Regions from separate parts of the Homo sapiens genome. Here regions 1, 2, 3, 4, 5 and 7 are each linked to region 6. The links are contacts of gene promoters, found by promoter capture Hi-C in blood cells and fetal thymus (Javierre and others, 2016). All regions are on one chromosome and are shown on one strand. The core of a region is centred on a gene start or on the middle of the fragment in contact, and the rest is flanking DNA. Distances in the headings are between cores, read along the strand shown.

Region 1 (2,700 bases), core at 14-2,513, 2.6 Mb before region 6:
GCCTTCTTATGGGAAGTTGCGTGTTTCAGGGAAGACAAATAGAGGCTCTCTCTGTGCCCACCACGTTTGGCAGCCAAGGAGGCCCCTTCTCTTTGGACCATTTCCCTTCCTGCAGCAGTTGGTCTCTGAGGCCACTGCCCTTGCTGCCCGTGGTGGAACGCATGCTCTCAGGCAGCTTTTCTGGACCTCACTTCTGCTGCTCCTGGGAAGTGCCCTCTCATAGGGTTGCCAGATAAAATATGGGATGCCCAATTGAATCTGAATTCAAGATAAGTAGCAATAACGCTTTGGTATCAGTGGGTCCCAGATGTTGCATGGGCGATACCACCTCTGGGTGCCTACACAGTGGGGCTGGGCCCCCCCATTGACTTCGCCCAACACTTGGGATCCTGCCTGGCGCTGGGAGCCAGAGCTTGTCTAGATGCACTGTCTATCATGACCAAGTCAGTACTAGGATGTTTCTGGACCCCAGCTTGGTCCTGGTGAAGCTCCATGATGACAACCTGCCTTCTGCTAACCACTCTGCTCACTTTGCAATCTCTAATCCGTTTTGTGGATCCAGTCTCAAGCCACGCCACTGGGCCTGAGGGAAAGAGTGGAGTGGTGGTCTCAAGATGAACACACAACAGACCCGAGACTTAGTTCCATCTTGTGAAAGCCTGTTCTAGAGGGGTTGAGAAATAGAGTTGTCGTGGTTGTTTTTAATGCCTGGAATGCATCAGGTTTAATTTAAAGATCAAAAATACAGTTATATTTTACATTCTTAAATCCTGAAGAAAAATGTGCTCTACCCAATTGCTTTCAGCTATGACTGCAAGTGGTGACATTCTGCTGGTGGCATTCAGAGTTCTATCTTTGAATGCCATGGTAATCACTTGCTTCCCTTCAAGTCTGTCGTGTCTGGCATGAAATTTAAGAATTTAAAATACCAGATCAGCAGGCTCACACCCAACAGACATGGCACATCTAAATATGCAGTTAATGACTACCCAAGGGGGCTATTTCAATGTAAAAAGTGAGGCAAGTAGTGACTGACAGTAAGACAAAAACAAAAACAAATTAAAAATCTAAACTAGATAAACTAGAAATAAGTACTTTAACAGAATGGTACTAGTGTTCAAGGTTATAGATCAGAAATTTGATCACCATTGTTCTACTCTTTGCTTCTAGGATATCAACTTTAAGAATTTTTTTTTTTTTAGATTCTACATATAAGTGAGATCCTGCAGTATTTGTCTTTCTGTGACTGGGAAGGGGGATGGGGAGGACAGAGAGAGGTTGACAAATGGATACAAAGTTACAGTTAGGAGGAAGAAGTTCTGGTATCTTATTGCATAGTTGGATGAGAATGATTAACAGTAAGATACCATAGATTACAAAATAGCTGAAGAGAGACTTTTGAATGTTCCCACCACCAAGAAATGACAAATGCAGGCCGGGCGCCGTGGCTCACGCCTGTAATCCCAGCACTTTGGGAGGCCAAGGTGGGTGGATCACGAGGTCAGGAGATCGAGACCATCCTGGCTAACACGGTGAAACCTCGTCTCTACTAAAAACACAAAAATTAGCTGGGTGTGGTGGCACATGCCTGTAATCCCAGCTACTCAGCAGGCTGAGGCAGGAGAATCGTTTGAACCAGGGAGTCAGAGGTTTCAGTGAGCTGAGATCACGCCACAGCACTCCAGCCTGGTGACGGAGTGAGACTCTGTCTCAAAAAAAAAAAAAAAAAAAAAAAAAGGACAAATGCATGAAGCGATGGACATGCTAAATACTCTGATTTAATCCTTATACAACGTATATATGTATTGGAACATCAAATTAGAGCCCATAAATATGTACAATAACAATGTATCAATTAAACAATTAATCAATTAATTAAGAAACAAATTTGAGATTCCCCTACTTATGATGTGCACAGGTTGGATAAATTCAGCTCTCTCTGGCTTGCTCAGGGAAGATGCCCAACCAGATCAAGAATCTTCAGGCAGCCCTCAGCTCCAAGGATGTGAAGCATCGGGCAAGCTCTGGGAGAAGGAGTTCTGCTGCCTTGATTGTTTTGCACCATCCCCAGTATGCACATGGCACAGAGTAGATGCTCAATTAGTGTTTGTTGAATTAATCCATTGACTTAAATTTAAAAGTGGAAGGCTGGGCATGGTGGCTCACGCCTGTACTCCCAGCACTTTGTGAGGCCGAGATGGGCGGATCATGAGGTCAGGAGATCGAGACCATCCTGGCTAACATGGTGAAACCCCATCTCTACTAAAAATACCAAAAATTAGCCAGGCGTGGTGGTGGGCGCCTGTAGTCCCAGCTACTCAGGAGGCTGAGGCAGGAGAATGGCATGAACCCAGGAGGCGGAGCTTGCAGTGAGCCGAGATCATACCACTGCACTCCAGCCTGGGTGACAGAGTGAGACTCCATCTCAAAAAAAAAAAAAAAGTGGAAGATTATACACACAAACACACACACACACATATATATATGGAAAAATCTTCCCCCCAGTGTTGATTACAAAATCAACTCTAATAAATAGGTGAATTTGGCATCTCTCCTTTCTGCAACTTCCTTCTATCCATTGACTTCATGCATATTGAGTAAAATATAATAATATGCCTCTAATGTAGACATGGCCAGAAATCCGTTCTGGAAAATTGCTGGTACTTTCAACATTTTGCACAATCATTATGAGCTTGAGAA
Region 2 (2,700 bases), core at 25-2,524, 2.5 Mb before region 6:
CCATGGGTTCTGTAATTGCTGCTTACAGGATAATTAAGAGCTTAATATTATAAAAGTTAATTATAAAATTATATTAATTAATTCTAATAGCCCAACGATCCTTCTGGAATTGATGTCTGAGAAGAACAAAGTCCCCAGAGAGGTCCACAGGGAAAAGGTCGAGTCAGACAGAAGTTTTCAGGCCCAGAGCTGTGCCTGCTTTGTTCTGAGCTCTAGTTTGGGAAACACAGGAAGAAACGAAGAGGGACACATAGTGACAGGGACCCTTGGGCTCCTGGGGGTGGTGGCAGGAGCACATGAGTGACAGCTGTTTCCAAATATGGACCGATGACAAGATGCTTCCAAGAGCCAAAAGGTAGGCCTTATTAGTACTTTGTAAACTTTCTCAGGCTTACATTATACAAGGGGTAATTTTTAAAAATAATCATCATGATCTTTTCTAAATGAAAAATTTGATGATGCATTTACTATCCAAATTACTGTAATAATGAACTGCCTTCTAGTCAATTTCTAGTGTAATTGGGGGATCTATGGCATAAAGCTTAAGACTTAGACACAATTCTCCTCCTCTCTGTCACAAGCTTCAAGCCTGATATTTTCCTGGCAACTCAAAGCCTTCTTGTAATATTGTCAGCAGTATGTCTTCCTCCCCAAAATTTATAAAAAGTGGTTGTGTTTGGATTTGTTTTTCTTACAGATTAGGAAAGATCTTTTCATCTTTCAAGTGAAAAAGATATCTGCTAGCAAGAATAATGAGGATTTGAGAAATCATTGTGGAAAAAGAAGATTTGTTTATACGAAGCCAGTGACTTTGGCCTGACTGTCATATGTAAGCACATCTGACAGAAGCAAAGGCAAACCTAATAATCCAATGATTACACCCCGAGCCCATGTAATTTGAGAAGTGAGCATCTTGGGGGTAGTTTAAATCAGGGGCTTTGGTGAAAGGCAGATCTTCTTCTTCATTTTTTTTTTTTTTTTAATTTTACTTTTAGAAAACCCTGCAGAACATGCAGGTTTGTTACACAGCTAAATGTGTGCCATGGTTGTTTGCTGCACCTATCAACCTGTCACCGAGGTACTAAGCCCCGCATTCATTAGCTATTTTTCCTAATGCTCTCCCTCCACTAGCCCCCACAACCGACAGGCTCTGATATGTGTTGTTCCCCTCCCTGTGTCCATGTGTCCTCATTGTTCAGCTCCCACTTATGAGTGAGAATATGCGGTGTTTGGTTTTTTTGTTCCTGTGTTATTTTGCTGAGATGGTTTCCAGCTTTATCCTTGTCCCTTCAGAAGACATGATCTCATTCCTTTTTGACTGCATAGTATTCCATGGTGTATATGTGCCACATTTTCTTTATGTAGTCTATCATTGATGGGCATTTGGGTTGGTTCCATGTCTTTGCTATTATGAATAGTGCTGCAATAAACATACATGTGCATGTATCTTTATACTAGAATGATTTATATTCCTTTGGGTGTATACCCAGTAATGGGATTGCTGGGTCAAATGATATTTCTGGTTCCAGATCTTTGAGGAATCACCACACTGACAGTATAAAAGTGTTCCTGTTTCTCCACAGCCTCGCCAGCATCTGTTGTTTCTTGACTTTTTAATAATTGCCATTCTGACTGGCATGAGATGGTATCTCATGGTGGTTTTGATTTGCATTTCTCTAATGATCAGTGATGTTGACCTTTCTTTCATATGTTTGTTGGCCACATAAATGTCTTCTTTTGAGAAGTTTCTGTTTATGTAGAAAGGCAGATCTTCTTTCCCCACTATGGGACCTTGGGTTGATGTGTCTGTGGTTCCCATGACAACTCTCAGATTTGATGATTTACTGGAAGGACTCACAGGACTCAGGAGAGTTATAGTTTGTGACTGTGAAAGGACACAGATTAAAATCAGCAAAGAGAAAAGGCACACAGGGAAAGGTCTGAGAGAAAAAAAAGACACAAGCTTCAAGTTGTCTACCCCCAGTGGAGTTGCATGACAAGTGCTTAATGCCCTAGGAATGGTGTGTGACACACCTGCGAGGTGTTGCCATCCAGGGAAGCTCGCCTGGGCCTTTGGTGTCCAGGGTTTTTACTGGGGGTTCGTCATGTAGGCAGGCAGTGTCTTGATAGCTGACCTTAGCTACTGACTCTCCAGCCCCACCAAGGTCCAGCTGATAGAGCACGGCCCAAAGCCCCAAGCGTACAACAAGGGAGCATCATAAGTCACACTGATAGCACAAACTATCTGAGCAAGCTGGTATAGCATGGCCCAAACCTCCGTCACACAAACATTTCTATCAGGCCTCAGACGTCATCATGCAGGAGCCCTTCAACAGCCAGTCCTTTGTCTGGAATAGTGTAAGGTTTGAGCACCAAAGCCTGCTGAGTTAACCTTTTACTGTACGATTACTCTGCCTCACTGGAACTTGATTTTCTTCTCAGAAAAACTACAGCGATAAAAAGATCTTTGTGATAACTCAAAAGATTACCCTGAAGATAAAATATATGTAACATGTTCAGAATAATGCCTGACTTATATCAAAAACTCCATGTTATTTCTAAAATTTTAAACTTTTAAAAACTTTATTCCAGGGTGTGGTGAGTCTTCTGGGCTTTGCCTCATATGTCCCAGACTTGGAGCCAAAAACGTTGGTAAGCAAGGAATGCCAACTGGAGCAGACAAAAAAAATAGCCCCAGGA
Region 3 (2,700 bases), core at 145-2,644, 2.5 Mb before region 6:
ACAATGAAAAGGAGGCCTAGCGTGAGTAACTTTTTCTCCTAACCCCCCTGCACGCAGTGATGTCTTTTAGGTTCATTGCTTTTACTTATCTCTACATGTATATTAAGGTAACTATGGGAAGAATTTAGTTTATAGTTTAACTTTTTAAAGAAAAGATAGTAATAGTCTTTTTTCCAACATTAACCCCCTGAGGACATAAGAAAATATGTACACAATTAATGATGCCAAAGATTTATAGGAACACGGTGACCTGACTGACATTATCTGAAGTCAACTGACCAAGAATAAAGAAGCTTTACAACCTCCTCGGACCCTTGCTGCTACCCAGATGTCTGTGGTTATTGGTCCCCTCTTGGTCTCAATCCCCTCCCTCTTCTGCCTTCTACTAACGTAAAAGGAGCCTAAAATTCTATTAACTTGAGATGGTTCTTTAGGACACTAGTCTGCCATCTCCTTGCTTCGCTGCTCTATGAATAAAGTTACCTTTCTTGCCCCAGCACCTTGTTTCTGTACTTATTGGCTGCTGCACAGTGTACTGTAGGAGCTTGGATTGGGCTACACTAAGAGGGAGATAAGCAGATGAAGGGTAAAGTCCAGAATGGGGAAATTGAACATAACTGAAAAAAAATGCACCATCCTTAGCTTCCCGAGGCTCACAATGGTATGCAGGGCTCAGTTTGAGTGTGTTGATGGGAAGCAGTTGCTTGGCTGTGAAAAACGGAAACAATCTTTGGTCATGCTCATTCCCATCCTCAGTCCTGGATTTGGCTGCTATGTGCATGATCCGTCATGGCAGTGATGGTGGAAGAGACAGGGAGGGATACTTGATCTGTAAGAGCACGGTTTGCCTTTTCTCTGAATTGGTCCTTCCCAGCGACTCACAGTGGCAAGCAACGGGCTGGATAATGGGGTTTTCTTTACACAGAAGCGAAGTCTGATCTCACCACCCGTAATGCTTCACCATTACCTAAAGTAGATTATTTCTGCTGAATTCACCACTGAACTGTGAACCTTAAAGATAACCAAAAATATTTCACTCCAAAACATCCTACTTTGACATCTTTCGAAATGGTTATTCAAAAAAACGTGTGTGGTGAAACAACCAGCCAGGCTTTCTCTGCATGCCACCCCTTGTCCAAATCTAGGAAAGATTAACTCCAACTCAGGTAACCCTCCATTCTCTCCCAGGGCAGCTCTGACATTACCTGAGACACTTCATCTGCATAACAAGATAGCTTTGGTTTGCTAGGCTTTCCTCCCTTCATCCTCCGATAACCTGTGATGCCACCTCCCCCAGAGCCCAGGGAAACTTGGTCCCATGACATTGTTCTTTAGCTCTTTCATTTTCCCTGAAAATATTCACTCCTATAAGCCCCCATATTCCCTCTCCCCAATGAAGAGGATGTTTAAGTGACAACCATCTTGTCTTTCTTTATGTTTCTATACTTTTTATGCTTCCCATGCACACATGTGCATGTTAATAAATTTGTATGCCTTTCTTCCTATTAACCTGTCTATTATCAGTTTGTTTTATAGACTCAAATGATCGAATTTTCAGGGGAAAAATTTAAACTTCCTTACAACCACAACTGCAACAATGACTATGAAGCTAACATTTTCTACACCATAAAATCCGTATGAAAATCTTTGACTTGCAAGTATTTAGCATTTGCTTGAGTGAACCACATAAATCTCAGCCATAAGGATAATCTCTCAGAGCATCATCAGAAAGATAATGGTGGGTTACAATGAAGATGCAGCATCCGACTAAGGTTTCACAATAAAATGTAAAACATTCAGAGATAGCCCTTCATGCAATGAGAGTGCTGAATAATAACAATGATCTCATTTAAATTTATGTATCGGATAATGAAATGAAATGGCCCCATCATTTCCAGAGGAATCTGTAGAAATCACTGGTTTCATTATTTCATGTCCTGTGCTCTAGAGCTCACCTGGCGTGTAAATGGTCTCATTTATATCCTGTGTTCCTTCCACATCCCTTACACTCTCATCGCCATAGTCACTAATGTACTTTAATGAGAGCAAAGCATGGGGAGACTCAAATGAACCAATAAAAATAGAAGGGATAAAGTATTATTAGGTGGAATGAATACAAAACTAAACTTATGCTATGTGAAGTGCTGTTGATTTTATTGATGCAGGCTTACAAAGGCATGCCAAATTCATGCTTTAGCTGCCCATGAATAATGGCAATAGCAAATCATTTTCTCTAATAAGACATCACTACCATCTTTTCTTCAGGGTCCAAGTTTCCAAATTAATAACCATTTTTATTAATTTTCTTGGATGAAGCGACTACAGTTAGAAATAGTTTCTCCCTCCGGTCCCCATTTATTTCCTACACACAGACTTATGAAGTCAGACATAATTCTAACATTGTTATATAATCAGATTTATCTGTCTGGCAGTGGCAGAGTTTGGGGGCATTTTTTTTTTTTTTTTTTTTTTTTACCAATTTACATGCAAGCTTTAAAAGGGGAAAATTTAAATTTTTAAATGAGGCATAAAAGTGGAAGCAAAAGTTAGTTTCAGTAAACAGCAGAGAGCTGAAAAAAAGTGAAAAATTGGTTTCCTTAAGGGGAATACAGTAAACGACAGGAAACAAGAGGAGAGGAAGACGTGAGAGGAGAGAGCGATGGAGAGGCCTCCTGTTAGCCAGCTCAGATGGCACCTCCT
Region 4 (2,700 bases), core at 95-2,594, 2.3 Mb before region 6:
CAAACAATAATTAAATAAAGCGGGGCAAGACGTGCAAGAAGAGCTCATCTCACAGTTCATTCCTAGCCTTCCCAGCTGGCTTCCAGATCCCACGATCTCTGCATCATCCCAAAGAGAAACACACTTGACAGGACACCCTACCATCAAATCAAGCTTGTGTTTTTCAGATATTTTTGACCAACACCTACATCATAGGAAATATACTTAAAATTGTAACCCAATACATGTGCGCATGCATACACACACACACAGACCACGCACTTGAAGCTAAAGTTTCACAAAAAATACCTGATATGATGTGCTATAGGCCGAATTATGTCCCTCCTGCAAAATTCATATGTTGAAGCCCCGACCCCCAGGACCTCAGCATGTTCCCTCATTTGGAGAGGGGGGTCTTCATAGAGGTAAGTTGAAATGAACTCATATGGGTGGGCCTTAATCCGGTAGGACTGGTGTCTTTATAAGAAGTGGAGATGAGGACAGACAGATGCAGGGGAATGACCATCAGAGGACACAGGGGGAAGGCATCTTGCTGTCTACAAGCCAGGGAGAAGGCCTCGGAAGGAACCAACCCTGCAGGCACCTTGATGTTGAATCTACAGGCTTCAGAACAGTGAGACAATCCATTTCTGTTGTGTAAGCCCTCCAGTCTATGGGACTTTGTTACAGCAGCCCTAGCAAACCTAATGCATGGTGCATTCCAATAGTTTCTACTCTATTCCTTTTGTTTCTTCTTTAATGCTGTTTGAAACAAAATCGATTCTAGGATCACAAATAGACCACACATGCAGGTTGAAGAACTGAGAGCAGTCTAAGATCCATTTTCTACACCAGTAATTGAACACGTGTTACTAATAGCTTCAGAAATGAAAAAGTCTATATACGTATATATATCCAAAACAGAGAATCACCTTGAGGGAGGGAGTCTAAATATAATGGCTTTAACAGAGGAAATGAATTTCTCCAATCATCCCTGACACAAACATAATGAATGATACCTTCCAACGCTCTTTGAAAAAGTAAATGAACTCGAGTTTAAGGAGAGTAAAGCAATTTTTCCAGCTCTTTCTGAAGCAATGATCAAGAAAGGTCTTGGTATTTCCATGTCACGCTGCAGAGAAGAAAGCCAGGAGTCAGCCAGGATCGAGCCACTAGGCTTGTGCTGTCCATTCTGAAAATTTTGGGAAAGAAGAGTGGGTACCTCTGGGGCTGGGAGAAATCTCTTCTCTACCAGAAAGGCAAGAAATTATGCCAAGCGGGGTGTGGTGGCTCATGCTTGTAATACTAAAACTCTGGGAGGCTGAGGTGGGAGGATTGCTTGAGCTCAGGAGTTTATCAGCCTGGGCAACATAGTAAAAACCTGTCTCTACAATTTTTTTTTTTAGTTAGCCAGGCTTGGTAGTGTGTGCCTGTGATCCCAGCTACTCAGGGGGCTGAGGTGGGAGGATTGCCAGGAAGTCAAGGCTGCAGTGAGCTGTGATTGTGCCTCGGCACTCCAGCCTGGGTGACAGAGTGACAAATTGTACCCAAATCACGTGAAAACTTACAGTATTTCTAAGAGTAGAGTATTGGCAAAATGACACAGTCCTGCTTCCAGGAATGCTAGAAAACCATGATCTTGGAGTAAATATCATCGTCATCCTCCGCATCACATACTGCATGTAATGGGAGGGATTAGAATAGTCATGAGAATATGTGTCTGGAATTTCACAGCTTAGTAAACACGTCCCACAGATAGTATGTTGAAGCCTATTGGCTCTTTCATGAGTCGGGTGTTGGTGCACAGAGGGTCCAGGCCTGGAGAATGGGGAGCGGGCCCCATGCTCTGGAGCCAGGTGGGTGTGAGGGCCTGGGCCACATGGTGGGTGCACCCTATCCTAGCCCAAACCCGCGGTGAGCCTCTACTTCCTGGGGCTCACTTTGTACTGAGGGCAAGATAACATTGCTTCAAGCTGCAGTGAGAAGTAAATATATTAGTCCTGGGAAGCACTTAGAATGGTGCACAGCCCCCACCCCCACCCCATCTAACCCCCACTGCCCCTGTCCCTCCTTCCGCCCCACCCCACTGTTTCTGTCCCGGGGTGTCAGTCTTTATTATTTGAACACGAAACACCCAAGGCCCTTGTGAAAATGCAGGTTCTGTTTCAGCGCCTGGGGTGAGGCCTGAGATTGCACTTTCTTAACCAGCTCCCAGGTGATGCTAAGGACACTGGCCTGTGGGCCTTGTTTTGGGTAGCAAGTATCTAGAACATGCAACAGAAACTGCTTGTTCCTCAGAGACAGAAGAGGTTGAGTATGGTTAACCATTTTTACATATGTGTTTTTTTAAAAAACACGCTTGGATGCCACCGTGCAGGAAGTACAAACCAAGGGCTGGGTCAAACCTCCTGGCCAGGCAGCTTGGACAGAAACATAATGAGAAGCATCTGGGCTTCATGCAGCTGTGACTGAGGGGACTCTCTGAGCCCTCACTTCCAGGGCTGCAGGTCATGCACCCAGCCCAACCGCAGCTTCTGCTCAGCTGGTGAAGCTTACAGGCTGTGAAAGTTAGTGAAATGCTTTGTGTTCAATCGCCTGGGGTAGGCTTCAGGTATCCAAACTGGGGTCGGGGGGGGGGGGCGGCGGGGGGGCAGGGCTAAGGCTGGAGCAGAGGCAGCTTTGCCATGGAAGCTGAGGGACCCCCTACTTTGGGATGCCCTA
Region 5 (2,700 bases), core at 197-2,696, 2.1 Mb before region 6:
CAGCACAGTGCATTGTGCTCTTCTCAAAAACAGAACTCAGCAGAGTCCTGAGGGGATCAGAGACCCGGGCAGTCGGTTCTACAGCAGCCCTTAAAGCCGAGACCCAGTTTCAGATAGACACGAGGAATAGGTTTTGAGATCTGTTGCACAGCCAGGTGACCAGAGGCAATAAAAATGTATTACACATTTCAAAACGACTCAGAGAGTAAATTTTAACTGTCTCATCATAAAAACATGATAGGCAAGCAAAGTGACAGATTTGTTAATTAGCATGATTTAATCATGCCACATTGTACACATACATCAGAACATCACATTGCACCCCATGAATGTATACAGTACTGATTTATCCATTAATAATAATAATACATTTAAAAGATAATAATAAAGTTGGAAGCTTAGGCTCCCAGGGGCAGGATCCCAACTAAGATTACAGAAAGATTCTGACAGTTGCCAAATGCTACCATAAAACCAGAGGGTTTCCTTGCCTCAAGACACAGGGAGCTTCCTGGTGATGAATGAAACCACATACATCTCAGCAGCGTGTTTTAGAGAAGTGCCTGGATCAGCTAGCTATTGACAGGCACCCAGGCAAGGAGCGTCATCAGCCAGTTATCTTATGATCTGACCTCTCCAGATGTCACTCATAAAGGAGTTCAGATGGACTCTGAGCCCCAAGCCCTGCTCACGTACCAGAACCGGCTGTGGAAGCCTTGGGTGTGCCCCCTCTGACAGCTTGGCAAGATGACCTGGAGCTAGCTGGCTGTGCATGCCCAGGAGGGGGCATTACCTGCTCCTGGGCCTCATCTTTCCTGGGGACATGGAAGGCATCCCAGGGGCCACTGCCGATCAGAAACTGCTTCAGAACACCAACATACCAGCCGTGGCCCCCACAGCCTCTGAGGGAAGGAGGGGGCCCTGAAGGATGGCTCCATGGAGCTCCGGATGTGCGGGACCACTGCTGGGGGAGGGTGGGATGGGCCAGTCCACTTTCTTGGCAGCTGAAGCCCAGCCCCTCACCTCATGCTGGACAGAGTCATGTGTCCAGGTTCTGTGCGTCCTTGCTTCCGGTGCACTGGGCTGATGCCACCCGAGAGCTGGGGAGGCATTTGCGGGGCATCTGCTCCTGGAATTAGGATCTCCCTGAGTTGGAATCCTGGCATTGGCAAGTACTCAGCCTTGTGATGGTGGGCAGGTGACTTCCCCTTTTTTATCCCCATTTTTCTCATCTCTCACAGAGGGTCTATTAAGAGATGCGCAGTGGTCCACGCGGCTGGCCGGCTCCATAAGTATCTCCTTCTCCGGCCTCTTGACAGGCCCCTGCTGCTTTGACTCAGCACCATGCCTGTGCTTGAAGTTCTGATTAAACGGTTGTTCTGATAAGTAATCCTCATGAATGGTCTCCATTTTGCTCATCCACGGTGAAACAAGCTGTCCTCCCTGGGCAAAACCCAGAAAACTGGTTCAGAGCCATGGGTTAGCAAGAAGCCACAGCGCAGGCACCTCTAAAGGGGATTTGCCCAGCGTTCACCAGGTCATGGGGAATTTGCTCAGCAGGGCAACATCACAGTCAAGATCATCTTGGATGGAGTTTCAAAGCTGAGTCCAAACCCTAGCTGTAGGGGTCCAAGCTGTGCAATCTGGGAGTGTGAGCCCCCCTGTGCCATAGCATTTCATCCAGACAGGAGCAGATGGTGGCCACCGTCCATGTGGGCAAGGAGCTCAGCACCAGGTGAGCACCGTCATCCCAGCATGACTGGAAGGCCTGCCACCCTCTGTCCTGCCTCCCTCTCCCGGCCACCTGCCACCCTACCCCATGTACACCTAGGCTCTACCTGAAGAGACCGGCTGGACGTCAACCCGTTCCCCTTCCCCTAAGTTGTGCGACCTTAGAAAGCTCCTTACGTTCTCTGAGATGAAAGTCAGTCTCTGTGAAACAGAGTTGAGAATATCAACCTCCCCAGGTTGCAGCTGACTGAGGATGTTCTCCGTGCCTTGCTATTAGAGAGCAAGGGTGGTGAATCCTGTGGGGCTGCCCTGCCGGAAGCCTCGCGGAACCTAAAACACACTGAATGGTTTCTTTCTGCTCCGCCCAGCCTTCCCCCATGATGCCTCACCCTGCGCCCTCTCCCCGCAGCGCAGCGTCTGGCCAGGTACCAAGAGGCAGACTCGGAGGAGGAGGAGGTGGTGCCCAGAGGGGGCTCGGTGTCCCAGCGCGGCAGCATCGGCAGCCACCAGAGTGTCCGGGTGGTGCACAGAACCCAGAGCACCAAGTCCCACCGGCGCACGGGCAGCCGGGCCGAGGCCAAGAGGGCCAGCATGCTGTCCAAGCACACGGCCTTCAGCAGCCCCATGGTGAGTGTACAGGGCCTCCTGCTAGGGTGCTGCCACGTCTCTTCCCCATTTTCACCATCCCCCGCTCATGGAAGGTGTCTATATTTAATCCTACAAATACACTGTCGCTGGGCGGCTTGGCTCTACTCAGCAGAAGCTTTTCTGGCCAACACTTTCTCTCCACTGTCGTCTTTTCCAAGACACTGACATGGCCCCTTTGCATGGCTTCTAAGGCTGGTTGATTGCTGGCAAGTCACCCAGAAAGGGTGACAAAGAGGAAGCCCGTGCTGCCAAATGAAGCAAATAAAACCTCAGGACAAGATGACAACCGCTAAAAAGCAAAGCCAACCCCTCCCAAGGGAGTTT
Region 6 (2,700 bases), core at 12-2,511:
CGTCCTCATCTGCCCCCTGGTGGCACGTTTTGTCACTCTGGACTCCTGCCGTAGGCTGCCAACAGCCTATTTAAACGAAACATCCTTGATATTTAGTGCTTTGTATATTTCCAGAAAGCTTTTCAATTACTGAGATTATCACTTCCTCTCACCATAAAGTTGTATAGCATTGCCCAATAATACTATTGTCATCTGCTTTATCTGTTAATACTTGATTTGTCTCATATTTAAACTGATTTTTGTCACGAGAAGTTTCCCCAGAAATTTTTTTATTCTTTGCCTGTTTTTCCTATATATCCAAATATATCAATTTTTGATCTATTTATATACCCATTTTGTTATCTTCAGGTGCGTTATTTGGTTTTCATTTTTTAAATTTCTTTCCCATTCTGCAGATGAAAAATACTGAGAAACCTACTCTGTTCCTGCATCCGAGCCATTCCACAGGCAGTTTTCCCATACTAAAAATGCTGTCTTCCACTGATGTGTGGCATGTCTCAGTTCCGTGACTTCTTTTCCTCTCTCTCTACTCGCTGCTGTCCCTTTTCTCCATGTGTCTCTAACATGCCTGTGTTCTTCAAGACCCAGTGCAACCACATTCCCTCCCACAACTCTATTTTCATGAGGAATAGCCAAGCAGGACTCCCAAGACATCATACAGGAGTGCCTACAGGGTATCTCTCCTTGGCAGTCCCACAGCACCGCAAATGCCCTGTGTCTGCCAATACTCATCAGCCTCTCTTCCCGTGTGCCTCTCCTGGGACCCTAAGAGAGTAACAGTCCCTGCAACTTCCCACTTTCTCCAGGCAGGGACTTGTGTGCCTTTTCCATGTCTTTGACTCCTTTATTCAATTATAATACAGGTATCTGTCTGCTATAACTCCTGGAACTCTCTTATGTAAATGCGCTTTTTTCATTCTCCGCCTCACATCTTAGCCCAGACCACACCATCTCCCCCCGCCGTCTTGGATACCTTCCATGTTTCCAGTGGTCTGCTCCCACTCCACACTGCAGTACAGTGATTTTTCTAAAACATGGATGGGTTCCTGTCACTCCCCTGTGAAAAGTCATCCATGTGGAGTCTGACTGGTCTGCATTTGGGGACTGGACAGAGTGAGAAGGGATCCTGTGTCAGCCAGGACTCCGGTAGACGCCCCTATGCAATATCCACTTGTGGTGGTCGGGGGCGGGGAAGGGGCGGGATTGAGCCCCCTTCCCCCCTCCTCCTTACTGCGGAAAGCTGCGGAGCGAGCAGCACTCACTTCCTATTCAGCATTCAGCAGGGAGGGAGCCTCTGAACAGCCACGTAGGCATTCTCTTCTCTCTGGAGGAAAAGGCCCAGCAGCTGTCCGAGGAAAAGACCCACCAGCTGTCAGCAAAGGGACATGTCGCAGCTAAGTAAGAATCTGGGTGACTCGAGTCCTCCGGCGGAGGCCCCGAAGCCGCCTGTCTATAGCCGCCCTACGGTTCTGATGCGGGCCCCGCCCGCTTCCTCCCGGGCTCCGCCAGTCCCTTGGGATCCACCTCCAATTGACTTGCAGGCTTCATTGGCCGCTTGGCAGGCACCTCAGCCTGCCTGGGAGGCCCCACAGGGCCAGCTGCCCGCCCCGGTGGTTCCGATGACCCAGCCTCCTGCCCTAGGGGGCCCGATAGTCCCGGCTCCCCCGCTGGGGGGCCCGATGGGTAAGCCTCCGACTCCCGGGGTCCTGATGGTGCATCCTCCACCTCCGGGAGCCCCGATGGCCCAGCCTCCGACCCCGGGAGTCCTGATGGTGCATCCTTCAGCTCCCGGAGCTCCCATGGCCCATCCTCCTCCTCCGGGGACCCCAATGTCCCACCCTCCCCCTCCGGGGACCCCAATGGCCCATCCTCCTCCTCCGGGGACCCCGATGGCCCATCCTCCTCCTCCGGGGACCCCGATGGTGCATCCTCCTCCTCCGGGGACCCCGATGGCTCATCCTCCCCCTCCGGGGACACCGATGGCTCATCCTCCCCCTCCGGGGACACCGATGGCTCATCCTCCACCTCCGGGGACACCGATGGCTCATCCTCCCCCTCCGGGTACACCGATGGCCCAGCCTCCAGCTCCGGGAGTCCTGATGGCCCAGCCTCTGACTCCGGGAGTCCTGATGGTCCAGCCTGCTGCTCCGGGAGCACCGATGGTCCAGCCGCCTCCAGCAGCCATGATGACCCAGCCTCAGCCTTCAGGAGCACCGATGGCCAAGCCTCCAGGTCCAGGAGTCCTGATGATTCATCCTCCAGGTGCGAGAGCTCCGATGACCCAGCCTCCAGCTTCAGGAGCACCGATGGCACAGCCGGCGGCCCCACCTGCACAGCCGATGGCCCCACCTGCACAGCCGATGGCTTCTTGGGCCCCGCAGGCTCAGCCTCTGATCCTGCAAATCCAGTCTCAAGTTATAAGGGCTCCTCCGCAGGTTCCCCAGGGCCCGCAGGCACCCCCAGCGCAGCTAGCCACACCCCCGGGCTGGCAGGCGACCTCGCCAGGATGGCAGGCCACGCAGCAAGGCTGGCAGGCCACTCCCCTGACTTGGCAGACCACGCAGGTCACCTGGCAGGCACCAGCCGTTACCTGGCAGGTGCCGCCGCCCATGCGCCAGGGGCCCCCGCCCATCCGCCCTGGCCCACCACCCATCCGCCCTGGCCCACCACCGGTGCGACAGGCCCCACCGCTGATCCGCC
Region 7 (2,700 bases), core at 146-2,645, 2.6 Mb before region 6:
GCATGTTTATAGTAGCACAATTTGCAACTGCAAAAATATGGAACCAGCGTAAATGCCCATCAACCAATGAGTGGATAAAGAAAATGTGATAGATAGATAGATAGATAGATAGGCAGGCAGACAGATAGACAGATAGATAGATGCAACAAAAACAAAGATAAATAGATGGAACTTAACGAAACTAAAAAGCTTCATTACTCAGCTATAATAAGGAAGGAAATAATGGCATTCACAGCAACCTGGATGGAGTTGGATACCATTATTCTAAGTGAAGTAACTCAGGAATGGAAAACCAAACATTATATGTTCTCACTTATAAGTGGGAGCTAAGCTATGAGAACGCAAAGGCATAACAATTATATAATGGATTCTGGGGATTCGTGGGGAGGGGTGGGAAGTGGAGGAGGGTTAAAAGACTACACATTGGGTCCAGTGTACACTTCTCGGGTGACAGATGCACCAAAATCCCAGAAATCACCATAAAAAACTTATCCATGTAACCAAACAACACCTGTTCCTCAAAAACTATTGACATAAAAAAAATCAAAATCACAGTGAGATGCCACTTCACACTTACTAAGATAAATTAAAAAGACAGGCAATAGCGATTGTTGACAAGGATGTGGAGAAAATGGAAACCTCACACATTGTTGGTGGGACATTAACCTTTGTGGTGACTGTGGAAATAGTTTGACAGCTCCTCCAAAGCTAAACATAGACTCATTATTTGGCCTAGCAATATAGTCAAGAGAATTAAAAACATATGTACACATTAAAACTGGTACCTCAATTTTCATAGCAGTATTATTAATAATAGCCAAAAAGTAGAAACAACCCAAATGTCCATCAACTGAGGAATGGAAAAACAAAATGTGGTATGTCCTTATCATGGAATATTTTTTAGCCATTGAAAAGAATGAAGTACTGATAAATGCTACAATATGGTTGAACTTCAAAACATTATTCTAGGGGTCAGAAGCCGTGCACAAAAGTTCACATATAGTGTGATCCCAGTTACATAAAATGTCCAGAATTTAAAATCTATATAGAGAAAAAGTAACTAGTGGTTTCCAGGGCTGGAGGAAGGGGAGAAGGGGGAATGACTACTAATGGATACAGGGTTTCTTTTTGGAATGATCAAATGTTCTAAAAGTAGTTTATAGTAATGGTTGCACAATTTTTGTAAATATGCTAAAAATATTGAATTGTAGGTCGGGCCTGGTAGCTTACACCTATAATTCCAGTACTTCGGGAGGCCAAAGTGGGTGGATCCCTTGAGGTCAGGAGTTTGAGACTAGCCTGGCCAACATGGTGAAACCCCATCTCCACTAAAAAAAAAAAAAAAAAAAAAATTAGCTGGGTGTGGTGGCACATGCCTGTAATCCAGCTACTTGGGAGGCCGATGCATGAGAAACATTTGAGCCCGGGAGGCAGAGGTTGCAGGGAGCCGAGATCACTCTACTGCACTACAGCCTGGGTGACTGAGCAAGACTCCCTCCAAAAAAAAAAAAAAAAAAAAAATTGAATAGTATACTCTAAATGAATGAACTTTTGTGTATGAAAATTATATCTCAATAAACCTATTTAAAACTGAGTTAACAAAGTGCTTAGATGACCAAGAACTGGCAATTTCTTGAAATGGTAGCTTTAACTACCAGGGCATTATTATAATTCATATCACTATCTGGAAGAAACAAGGTGCTTGTCGTGGAGTTTTTATTTTCTTTTTTCTGAGGCTTTTGCCTGGCAATGCTCCTTCCCTACCACTGTTTTGCAGTCTATACATGCAGGAGGAGCAGCTCTGAGGCACTGACACCCAAGATTACAGACTGATTAAAAGCAGGTGAATTTACAAATCAGTATCACGCAGAGAGAAGGAAGACATGGCATATGCCAGTCTTCCATCTCAAATCCCATCTTACGCAGGGGTGAAGGAGTCCAAGAAGCTCAAGAAGCGGGACTTGAAATACTCAGTTGTCATACTGGAGAATGACATCGGTTCTTCAATGAATGCAAAAACAAGATTTCTTCTAGCATTGGTAAATGGATTGAGACCCAGTTAAAGCTGTTGGCTTATATATAGATGCAACCGAAATTGCATATCTATAAACGTTAAAACTGTTGCCAGCATGATGTTCTATGATGTTCACATCCCATGAGATGAGCCAAGAGAACTGCAGAGTATATAAGTGATAGAGAAAACAAAGTATTAAACAAAGTATTTAAACAAATACAAGATGATTTCTCTGTCAAATAAATGTCCAACCCTGGGTGGGCACTCTATGACAATCATATATTCCATATATATATATCTATATATCTATATATCTATATATATATATATATATATGCCTATATATATAATAGGCCTATATAGGCCATATGCCTATTTTATATATATAGGCATATATATATGGCCTATATAGGCCTATATATAGACATATATATTATATAATTATATTATATATATATAATTTTAGAACTCCTGAGGACTCCTCTCTCTTTCAGATGACAGCATGAGCCCTCCCTCCTCTACCTCTCCTTCCTGCGTCTACTCACACCTTCCAGGACATGCACTTTCCTTTACATTGGCAAGCTTATTCTTTTTTTTTTTTTTTTTTTTTAAGACAGGGTCTCACTCTGTGGCCCAGGCTGGAGTGCAAAGGCGTGATCATGGCTCACTGCAGCCTTGAGCTCTTG

The links. The method cuts DNA at HindIII sites, captures the fragments that hold promoters and counts their contacts. A CHiCAGO score of 5 or more calls a contact.
Region 1: a contact is called between a fragment that was not itself captured here and the fragment with the promoter of MAGEL2 in region 6, in 15 of 17 cell types (M1 macrophages, M0 macrophages, M2 macrophages and 12 more). The highest score is 35.9, in M1 macrophages.
Region 2: a contact is called between a fragment that was not itself captured here and the fragment with the promoter of MAGEL2 in region 6, in 1 of 17 cell types (M0 macrophages). The highest score is 7.7, in M0 macrophages.
Region 3: a contact is called between a fragment that was not itself captured here and the fragment with the promoter of MAGEL2 in region 6, in 1 of 17 cell types (M0 macrophages). The highest score is 9.9, in M0 macrophages.
Region 4: a contact is called between a fragment that was not itself captured here and the fragment with the promoter of MAGEL2 in region 6, in 5 of 17 cell types (M0 macrophages, M1 macrophages, M2 macrophages and 2 more). The highest score is 20.0, in M0 macrophages.
Region 5: a fragment that was not itself captured here is called in contact with the fragment with the promoter of MAGEL2 in region 6 in 4 of 17 cell types (M1 macrophages, M0 macrophages, monocytes and 1 more); the score reaches 7.8 in M1 macrophages.
Region 7: a contact is called between a fragment that was not itself captured here and the fragment with the promoter of MAGEL2 in region 6, in 2 of 17 cell types (M2 macrophages and naive B cells). The highest score is 9.6, in M2 macrophages.

Annotation. Positions count from the first base shown.
Region 1 is chr15:26,257,944-26,260,643 of GRCh38, reverse strand. No RefSeq gene overlaps it. Among named protein-coding and RNA genes, the nearest start is that of LINC02248, 140 kb to the left of the region's middle. RefSeq lists an enhancer at 1-276. The HindIII fragment of the contact is 3,403 bases long and covers 1-2,700 here.
Region 2 is chr15:26,186,960-26,189,659 of GRCh38, reverse strand. No RefSeq gene overlaps it. Among named protein-coding and RNA genes, the nearest start is that of LINC00929, 72 kb to the right of the region's middle. The HindIII fragment of the contact is 1,382 bases long and covers 584-1,965 here.
Region 3 is chr15:26,169,992-26,172,691 of GRCh38, reverse strand. No RefSeq gene overlaps it. Among named protein-coding and RNA genes, the nearest start is that of LINC00929, 56 kb to the right of the region's middle. The HindIII fragment of the contact is 2,198 bases long and covers 296-2,493 here.
Region 4 is chr15:25,938,960-25,941,659 of GRCh38, reverse strand. All of the region lies in intron 1 of LINC02346 (long intergenic non-protein coding RNA 2346), which reads right to left. Among named protein-coding and RNA genes, the nearest start is that of LINC02346, 38 kb to the right of the region's middle. The HindIII fragment of the contact is 2,377 bases long and covers 156-2,532 here.
Region 5 is chr15:25,717,837-25,720,536 of GRCh38, reverse strand. It overlaps ATP10A (ATPase phospholipid transporting 10A (putative)), which reads left to right. Exons shown (of 21, transcript NM_024490.4): 8 at 2,138-2,355. Among named protein-coding and RNA genes, the nearest start is that of MIR4715, 130 kb to the left of the region's middle. The HindIII fragment of the contact is 2,094 bases long and covers 400-2,493 here.
Region 6 is chr15:23,646,428-23,649,127 of GRCh38, reverse strand. It overlaps MAGEL2 (MAGE family member L2), which reads left to right and starts at 1,261. Exons shown (of 1, transcript NM_019066.5): 1 at 1,261-2,700. The coding sequence starts at 1,386. RefSeq lists an enhancer at 1,974-2,700. The HindIII fragment of the contact is 5,160 bases long and covers 121-2,700 here.
Region 7 is chr15:26,276,686-26,279,385 of GRCh38, reverse strand. No RefSeq gene overlaps it. Among named protein-coding and RNA genes, the nearest start is that of LINC02248, 120 kb to the left of the region's middle. The HindIII fragment of the contact is 2,407 bases long and covers 192-2,598 here.